Regions from separate parts of the Homo sapiens genome. Here regions 2 and 3 are each linked to region 1. The links are contacts of gene promoters, found by promoter capture Hi-C in blood cells and fetal thymus (Javierre and others, 2016). All regions are on one chromosome and are shown on one strand. The core of a region is centred on a gene start or on the middle of the fragment in contact, and the rest is flanking DNA. Distances in the headings are between cores, read along the strand shown.

Region 1 (2,892 bases), core at 120-2,619:
CACCTGACTCTCCCGTGGAAACTCGTGGCGCACGATGCTGATCACTGGAATGTGCAGGACTAAGCTGACCAAGTCGAGCTCCATCATTTCGCCCTGGCTCTGGGGGAAGGCGAGCAGCGCCGACACCCCTTGCACCACCACGGTATGGCACACACTTTGCAGGAAGGAGAAAGGGTCACTGCTCCATGGCGAACTAGGGGAGGAGAAGGGCAAAAGTGGCAGATCGCCCAGGCCTGCCTCGATGGCCATCACTACTTCCAAAGACAGGTTGTAGGGTAGCAGCCCTTCCACGCGGTTCAGGTTGTCCACGGCAAATAGGAGGGCGTCCCGTGGCCACAGGGCCTCCGCCCTGGCGCCCTCCCCGGGCTTACGGGAGCCCGGCGGCCCCCGGCCATGCAGGGTGCTCCCCAACCAGCGTGCGCCCGGCGAGGGCGCCGGGGACCGCCTAGTCCCTGGCTCCGGCTCATCCCTCTGGGCTCCTGCTCGGCTGTCGTCCGGAGCGCGGCTGGCCGCGCGGGGGGCGGTGGTCCAGGGCTGCAAGTGCACCGCGCCCACCCTCACCGCGTGCCCGATGCGCTTGAGGATCTGGCAGGGCTGCGGGTGCGAGGAGGAGCTGGGCACCCCGGCCAGCACCAGTGCGCAGGGCGGCGGCAACAGCAGACAGACCCTGCTCAGCAGCCACCACAAACTCAGTCTCCTCATTACTGAGACCCGCAGGGAGAAAGCGCGCCCCCTCCTGCGCCCGGCTCGCCCCTCTGCAGCCGCTGCCTGAGGTCTCCGCCTCCAGGTCCCGCGCGCAGCTTCACTCCACTCGGTGAAGCGGTCCCAGGAGCTGGAGCGGTCTCTAGGCCATGCAAGTTGGAGCGTAGCGCGCCTCCGGCAGTCTCAGATCCCGCTCCCAGGTCCCTCCGCCTGGCATCCTCTGCCCGCCCGGTCACTGCGCTGAGCAGGCAGGCGGGCGGGCCGGCGCCTGTCACCCGCAGCTGGAGCGCCCGTTCCCTGCCCGCCCCATCTGCAGGGCGCCTCGGGCACTGCGTCCGGCCCCGCGAGGCGGCCGGGATGAGAAGCAGCCGGAGTTCCTCGGGGGCAGCAGTGACAGAGGAGCGACGCGCTCTCGCCTGGATTCTTTTCCTTTTCTGCCCAGGCGAGACCCACTTATTTCCTGGGGTCGCGTTGGAGAGGGCTTTCACGCCCGGGGTGCGGAAAAGAAGCCAAATCCACCTTCCTCCACTGTTGGCCACCCTCCTGCAGGCTCCCCCAGCGCCGACTTCATTTTCTCTCTTCTCTCGCTACTTCCTCTCTGCCTTTCTTTCGTTATTTTTCCACCGAGTCGCCACCGCCGCTTGCTTCCTCGGAGGAGCAACGCGACTGGCCAGCAAAGGGTGGCTCTGCTCCGAGCGCCAAAGTTCTCCCCGCCTCAGCCGGCGCCTCCCTGTTGCTGAGCCCTGGCGCCTGCCTGTCGCTTGGCTGCGCTAAACGCCCACTGTTGGTGAGATTCCCGAGTGGCACATCCCGCGCCCCTGGAAAGTCCTCTCCCCTCAAAGGCTGGGCGTCATAGTTTGCAAAATTCCCTAAAACCTAAGAAGGAAAATAGGACTATGAGCCGGTGAGAATTCTGAATTCAGAGTCGCACCTGAGGGATCTGAAATTCGGTGGTTCACTGAAATAGGTTCAAAGAGGCTGTGACTTAACGAGCTTCTGGATGTGTCGCTTTTAAGGTTTTTCTAGCTAAGGGTATTAAAGTAAGAATTATTTACACATTTTTATCTCCTCAGCTTCTTTCTTTCTGGCATGTGAGCCTTTGCATTTTTTTTTTAAAGAATCCCTGTTTTTAGGTTCTCAGAATTAAAACAAAGTGAATTCAAAGCAATTTTTTCAGTTCAAGAAATTAAAGAGTTTCAAAATACTTTTAGAGTTTAAAATGCAGTCAACAGCAGTTCCCAGTTTAGATCAAGAGTCCCCAGATCACAGTTTGTACTAAGTTATTTCATTTGTATGGTAATACAGTGAAGTCAACGTGTTGTGATCTAATCTTTTCCTCCATGATTTGAATAATCTGAAACTAGAAGGTAAGGAAAGAGTTAAGGGCAGGCCTGTGGTTTGCACATATACAGTAGATTAATTTTATTTTATCCCACAGTATCGTTTAGAAGGAGGGTAGGAGAGATCCATGGGGTGGAGCAAGCACTGGGGATCAGCCTTTCTGAGTCTAATACTACTTCATGACCATGACCTTGGCAACTTATTTCACCCGACCTTGCCCTGCTGTTTGGATCTGCTAAATTGTTATGCAAATACAGCTGGCTTTTAGCTCTGGAGGGTTGTTTTGATTCATGAGCTAAAGTTTCCATCATGTTTTAAATCCTGGGAAGAAGAGACTCTAGTTAAGTAAAAATCCCAAGAAGCTTGCAAAGTGAATGCTGTTTTCCCCAGCCCAGATCTTTAAAGGTATCTCAGAACAAATTTACCAGACATTCGGCATCGTTTTTGCAAGACTGGGTTGCTAGAGAAGAAAAGTCTCCCATGAGAAAAAAAGTGAAAATCATAGTAGTGGGCTGAATGAGGAGGGAAAGAAACCCTCCTGAAGCCTGAGAGAACATCCCATGAATGGAGAAAAGCTGCCTCTAGTGTGCTGGAAATTCCCCCTTGATCCACAGGATTCCACTGATTGAGATCTGAATAATAAAAGTGTAGAAGTCTGAGGTCCTTGCATTGCAGGAAGATTGGGTATCTACTAATTGTGTAGTAAGGAGGTATATTTGTCTGTACTCGAGTGTGTGTTTTGAAGAATATAATGTATAACTTTCTAGGTTATGACCATGCTTAGTCCTTGTACTTTTAGTCCTTGGCATTACACTTATGTTCAGATCAGGTTCTCAAGAAAAACATGAT
Region 2 (2,892 bases), core at 170-2,669, 2.9 Mb after region 1:
GAATGTACATTTCATCAAATAAGGATATTTGAATATGCAATAAATGTATGAAAAATGCTTAACTTCAGGGAAATAAAAAAATAAAATAATATGCTACCACTCCCACCACAACAGCTAAAATGAAAAACAGAGATAATACCAAGTGTTTCCAAAGATGTAAAGCAACTTAAGTTCTTACATACTGCTGGTGGGAGCTTAAATTGGTACCAATACTTTATAGAACTGGAGATGTGTATGAAGCTAAGTATTTGCATACCCTATAACTCAGAATTCTTTCTAAACTATATATTCAATAGAGTGATTATATACAAATTTACACCAAAGATGCATATAAGTATGTTAATAAAAGCACTATTCATACCTTATACAAACACTAGAAAAATATAAATGTTTATCACAAGTAGAATAATGGAATATTTAGCATGGAGAATGAAGAAGGTGCAACTTCAAGCAATATAATATTGGTTAAAGGTATACATAATACATGATATTTGAAACAAATAAAATCAATATGCAGTATTAAAATAGTAATATCTATTAACTCTGAGGAGCTTTGGGGGTGCTTTCTCTGTTTTCCACGATCTGAGATGTGTTCCATTAAAGCATTCAACATGCTATAGCACTTATAAATTGAGCATTTTCAACAAATAACTAGATAGAGAACCCACTAAATACAGAACCCAATGCATTTCCTAAGACTTTAATAGATGTCTTTCATGATTAACAGTATTACTAGTGTTATTATTACATGCTTACAAAGCTGAAATTTCCATGGCTCATTCTCAAAAAGGAAACAGTCAAGCAATCAAAATAATTTTCAACCTCTACTTAACTTTCTTAAAAACCATGGAAGGAATCCAAATATTTCCTACCACAGTAACACTGATAAGAATTACTTTTTCTTTTATCCACTGGCATCATATCCCCCAGCTGTTTTGGAGCATCTCTCCATTTTCCAGCTTTGCTTTTTTTTTTTTTCCTCCCTCTCTCTTGCTTTCATTTCATATGATAATATTCTTTTGATGTAAATATCTTTTATCAGGTAAAATAAAATTTCTCTTCCTTGGACCAGCAGTTCAGGGGATGGTAAGTTTTAAAACAAGGGAAAAAACAGACTTTAAGTATTGAGGCTTATGTCAGTGAGCTAGGATATATATTGATTGTATCTCACATTTTTAATTATTTTGAAGATTATAAAGATCAATAACTGGAAGCTTCTGCTCTTTTGATAGATGGATTTTGAGAAGAGTTGAACATTAATATTCCCAAATCAAGGGTTATTTTTTCTGTCGCACTGTCGCTAAACTCAAATGTCACCTCTTCTGTGAAGCCTTTACTAAACCCTCCAGGAAAAAATCACTTCTCCCACTTCAGTGTTTCTATATGCTTCTTTGTGCCTCTTTTATAATTTGTATTATATATTGTATACTATTTATTCAGAGGGATGTAGTTGAAAGCACACATTTTAGAAATCAGGAAGAGATGGATAAAAATCCCAACTCTGTAGTTCACCAGGAACATAAAATTTAAAGACGTAAAGTGGAGTCCTCAGGAAATAGATGTTCATTATAGTTCTTTGTTGAATGAATGAAGGCATGATTGCTTTTCACACATTGAAGCTAAGCAAGCTTAGTTACCATTACTAGAATAAGCCTTGCCAATCATTGCTGCCTCTGCATCTTTGTTCATGCCATTCTCTCTATCTAAAATCAAAATCTCTCTAATCTATCACAATCCAAGACCCTCCTCAAAAGCCTCCTCTGCCTTGAAGCTCCTACTTATCATTTTAACTAAATTGGATTTGTTTAGCAATCTTTCATAATATTTATAATATGAAGATTTATTTTCTATTTGTGTGTTGTTTGTATATCCTGCTTTATTGAAAGGTCATTAGAAGTAGAGTTACTGGTCTTTGTAATCTCCACAATTAACACGTTGATAATTTGGATCAGTGCAATTTGTGTATTCAACTTTTTTAAACAGGCATTTTTCTTTTGAAGGTTGTGTCTTGTATGATGTTACAGGGAATACACACAACTAGCAATAAGCCCAGTTGAGACAGCATTCTCTTCAACAGTGTTTCAGGCCAGGTGTGGTGGCTCACAACTGTAATCCCAGCACTTTGGGAGGCCAACACAGGCAGATCACTTGATGTCAGGAGTTTGAGCCCAGCCTGGCCAACATGGTGAAACCCCATCTCTACTAAAAACACACAAAAGGCCAGGTGTGGTGGCTCACACCTGTGGTCCCAGCACTTTGGGAGGCCAAGGCAGGTGGATCAGAAGGTCAGGAGATCGAGACCATCCTGGCCAACATGGTGAAACCCTGTCTCTACTAAAAATAAAAAAATTAGCCAGGCGTGGTGGTGGGTGCCTGTAGTCCCAGCTACTTGGGAGGCTGAGGCAGAAAAATCACTTGAACCTGGGAGTCAGAGGTTGCAGTGAGCCGAGATCACACTACTGCACTCCAGCCTGGTGACAGAGCGAAACTCAGTCTCAAACAAACAAACAAAAAGCCCACACAAAAAAATTAGCTGGGTGTGGTGGCGTGCACCTGTAGTCCCAGCTACTAGGGAGGCTGAGGCATAAGAATTGCTTGAAACCAGGAGGCGGAGGTTGCAGTAAGCCAATATTGCCTACTGCATTCCAGCCTGGGTGACACAGTGAGACTCTGTCAATTAAAAAAACAATGTGTTTCAGTGTTGTTTACCTGGTTTTGTCTCACCTGAGTGTAACAACCGCGACTATAATAGGTCAGGCAGAGTCTATCTAACTGAATTAAACACAGATAAGAATCCCAGAGCTACTTTCTTAAGGTCATTATTTAACAAGAAGAAATATTAATCTATAAACCAGTAATTCCTACATATGTATCTCCATTCCTGACTTCCCT
Region 3 (2,892 bases), core at 257-2,756, 2.7 Mb after region 1:
ACAAAGCATAAAGCAGAAATACTACTCATTCTTTTTTCATTTTTATAGCTGGAAAAGCAAAACACAATTTAATATTTCAAAAAATTGCCTGTCGTACCAGCTTTTCATGATTAAAAACAATGCCTCTAAAAATGCACTTGTGCTTTCCCACAGTGTCTGATATATGTTTTGTTTCTAGCCAGCCAATAATCAGCTCTTGCAGTGATGTTGGGAACTTTGTGAAGATATTTATCATTCTATAGGAACTCATCAAGGAAAAGCTAGAACGATTGCTGGCAGTATCTGAGTCACTGAGGTAGAATAGAAAGAGTATAGAATTTACAATCAGAAGAGAATCCACCCAGCTGCAGTCTTTGTGTAACTTAGTTATAAACTACCTGTTTAGAACTTTGAGTCTTAGGTTCCTTAACATAATATCTATAATGTTGATAATTATAATAGTATACGCCATGACATTGTTAAAGGTATCAGATAAACAGATGTGTATAAAATCATCTGAAAAATAAAAATAGAAAACTAATGTTACTTATTATTTCATGAAATTTAAAGTGTCACATTTCTTTATATTAATAAAGTACCATAAAAATAAAATATTTGAAAGCTCAGAAATTGGGGGATTTTCTGATTCTGAGTAGAGTTTGCATACATTTGAGAATATTCTAAAAATGCACTGGGTTTGGTCAAGACACACAGGTGGTCAGTATACATAAGTGAAGTGGAGAGTATCTGAACTGGTTAGGTGCTGGAGGCAAGGATTTATACCTAGGATGTTCTGCCATTGCCAGGTAATGACATCAGCATATGAAGAAAGGCCTTATTCTAATATGATATTTACTGTATCAAAGCAGTTGATAGAAGTAATGTCTTTCTCGTTTTGCTACTTTAATGTGGAAGATTTGCATGTCAGGCTCTCTGTTAGACCCTAAGCTTCTAAAAGTCCAAGTGAGGCCTTACAGGGTGCTTGCCAATTAAGAAGTTAAGATCAGACAGATCTGGTTTCAAATATAAGCTCTGACTCTTCTTAATTTGAGACATGCTGTTTGAACTCTTTTAGCCTCAATCTGTAAAATGGAGATGGTAATAGCCTCTAAATCAGGGTTGCTGTGAAGATTAAATGAAAACATCTGTAAAGCCTGAAACACAGTTAATACTCAATAAATGCAGCCCTTATTGTTTTCAGCACATTGAATTGTTCATGATAATTTATTTGCCTAGCTCCCTAATTAGATTAAACATTTGAAGGCAGAGGTCATGTCCTATACCATCTCCCATTTCATTCTATATTTTCCCCAGTAGACTAATGTTTCTTAGTGTGGTAGTCTAGACCACTGAGATTCTTCAGCTTATCCAAAAAGAGAACCCCTTTGCCCTGCCTAGATTCTGAACAATGTCAAAAATAAAACAATAAAATTGAAGGCCAAAATATTACCAGTGCTACTGATAAAGCTAAGTACAAAAATGACCTTGCGGAAGAGCCAAAGTCACCTTCAAAGACAACTCCTGAACTGGAAAAGTTTACCTACCCAATGTCAGGCAGCACTGGACTAGGGCTGTGGGGAGGCCTGACCAAGTCAGATAAGAGCACAAGGCCAGTTCAGGCTGCCCTCGGGCAGTCTCATTTCCAACCCCGGCCAAGAAAGCTGTGCTAGAGGTGGCCTAGATTTCCAGAGTTTGGGGGCACAATGTGAGGCCAGATATAGATCCTGTAGAAGACAACTGAACTTGATTGTTTTAAAGGATTTCCTATCAAGAGCACCATCTGAAGTGGTGAGTAAACTCTCCAGAGAAAGTCCTGGGATGCCTCTCAGAACCCAAGAACCAAACAGGAAATAATGTGTATTTAGCCAGGGGACACCTCATGTACTCCAGACAAACCTTTCCTGTCCCTTACCTCTCTTTGCTCCCCGTTCCAACACTAGAGAATTCATTCCAACGCTGGAAAAGGAGGACAAGAAGAAAAAGAGAAAATAGGTGAGGGAACCAATATCATCTGCATTTTCCCATTCCAGAATTTTCAGTCTGAAGAAGGGCCAAGCTAGGAAGTGGAAGAAACTTTAAAGTAAATGAAACATTGAAGCCTTAATATAAGCTTGGATTTTTCAGACTGGGAAATAAAACTATTTGTTACTATCTAAAAGATACAGAACATGCTGAGATTTCATCCAGGGATTAGGAAAAATGTTTCTAGAGGATAGGTTGGAAAGGACAATTAACCATAGAGACTGACTTTTTTTTCATAAACAAAACTTAACTATAGAGACCGATTTTTTTAATGTATTTATTCATCATGAGAATTTATATAGAAGTTCTGAAATGGAAAGTCTCTTTTTCTTTCTGAGTTGTGATAGTTAAGAACTGTATGCACAGAGTGGCTCAAGGCTATTTTTCCTGAGAATAAAGCTAAATCAGGAAAAAGCAGAACCAAGAGACTGAAAAGAGGGAGAGGGAGAGAGACAGAAAGAGAGAGAGAGATTTATTATTGATAACATTTTCTGATTTCTAATTCAGACAGGCTTAATGCAAAGTCTCCTCTAGGACTGCAGTTTGTTTAAGACAATGCATTCTTTTTTTTCTAATTAAGCAAGTTATAAGATTGTTTTCTTTCAATTTGCATCAGAAAGAGTTCTCATTAATAAAGCATAATTATTTAGAAGAAATTAAAACTACATGTACTACACATGCTTCACTTCACAATTAAATAAAATCACTGATATTTGAGTAACTTCTTAGCCTTTGTGTTATTCGTATACAACAATGGATAACATGCACTGAACATTTATTATGTATCAAGCACCTTTATATGAACTAACTGAATTCCTATAATGACCTATGAAGTTTTTACTATCTGGTAGGCTCTTTGGCTTATCAATGCAGAAACTGAGAGGTTAAGGA

What was found. Contacts are between HindIII fragments. The CHiCAGO score rates a contact against its expected background, and 5 or more counts as called.
Region 2: a fragment that was not itself captured here is called in contact with the fragment with the promoter of GRIN3A in region 1 in 4 of 17 cell types (naive CD8 T cells, M2 macrophages, activated CD4 T cells and 1 more); the score reaches 7.2 in naive CD8 T cells.
Region 3: a fragment that was not itself captured here is called in contact with the fragment with the promoter of GRIN3A in region 1 in 1 of 17 cell types (endothelial precursors); the score reaches 7.1 in endothelial precursors.

What each region holds. Positions count from the first base shown.
Region 1 is chr9:101,737,278-101,740,169 of GRCh38, forward strand. GRIN3A (glutamate ionotropic receptor NMDA type subunit 3A) reads right to left here and starts at 1,370. Exons shown (of 9, transcript NM_133445.3): 1 at 4-1,370. The coding sequence starts at 702. RefSeq lists enhancers at 679-1,203, 1,204-1,727. The HindIII fragment of the contact is 5,247 bases long and covers 1-2,403 here.
Region 2 is chr9:104,670,941-104,673,832 of GRCh38, forward strand. All of the region lies in intron 2 of LOC107987105 (a long non-coding RNA gene), which reads right to left. Among named protein-coding and RNA genes, the nearest start is that of OR13D1, 22 kb to the right of the region's middle. The HindIII fragment of the contact is 414 bases long and covers 1,213-1,626 here.
Region 3 is chr9:104,390,850-104,393,741 of GRCh38, forward strand. No RefSeq gene overlaps it. Among named protein-coding and RNA genes, the nearest start is that of OR13F1, 110 kb to the right of the region's middle. The HindIII fragment of the contact is 1,162 bases long and covers 926-2,087 here.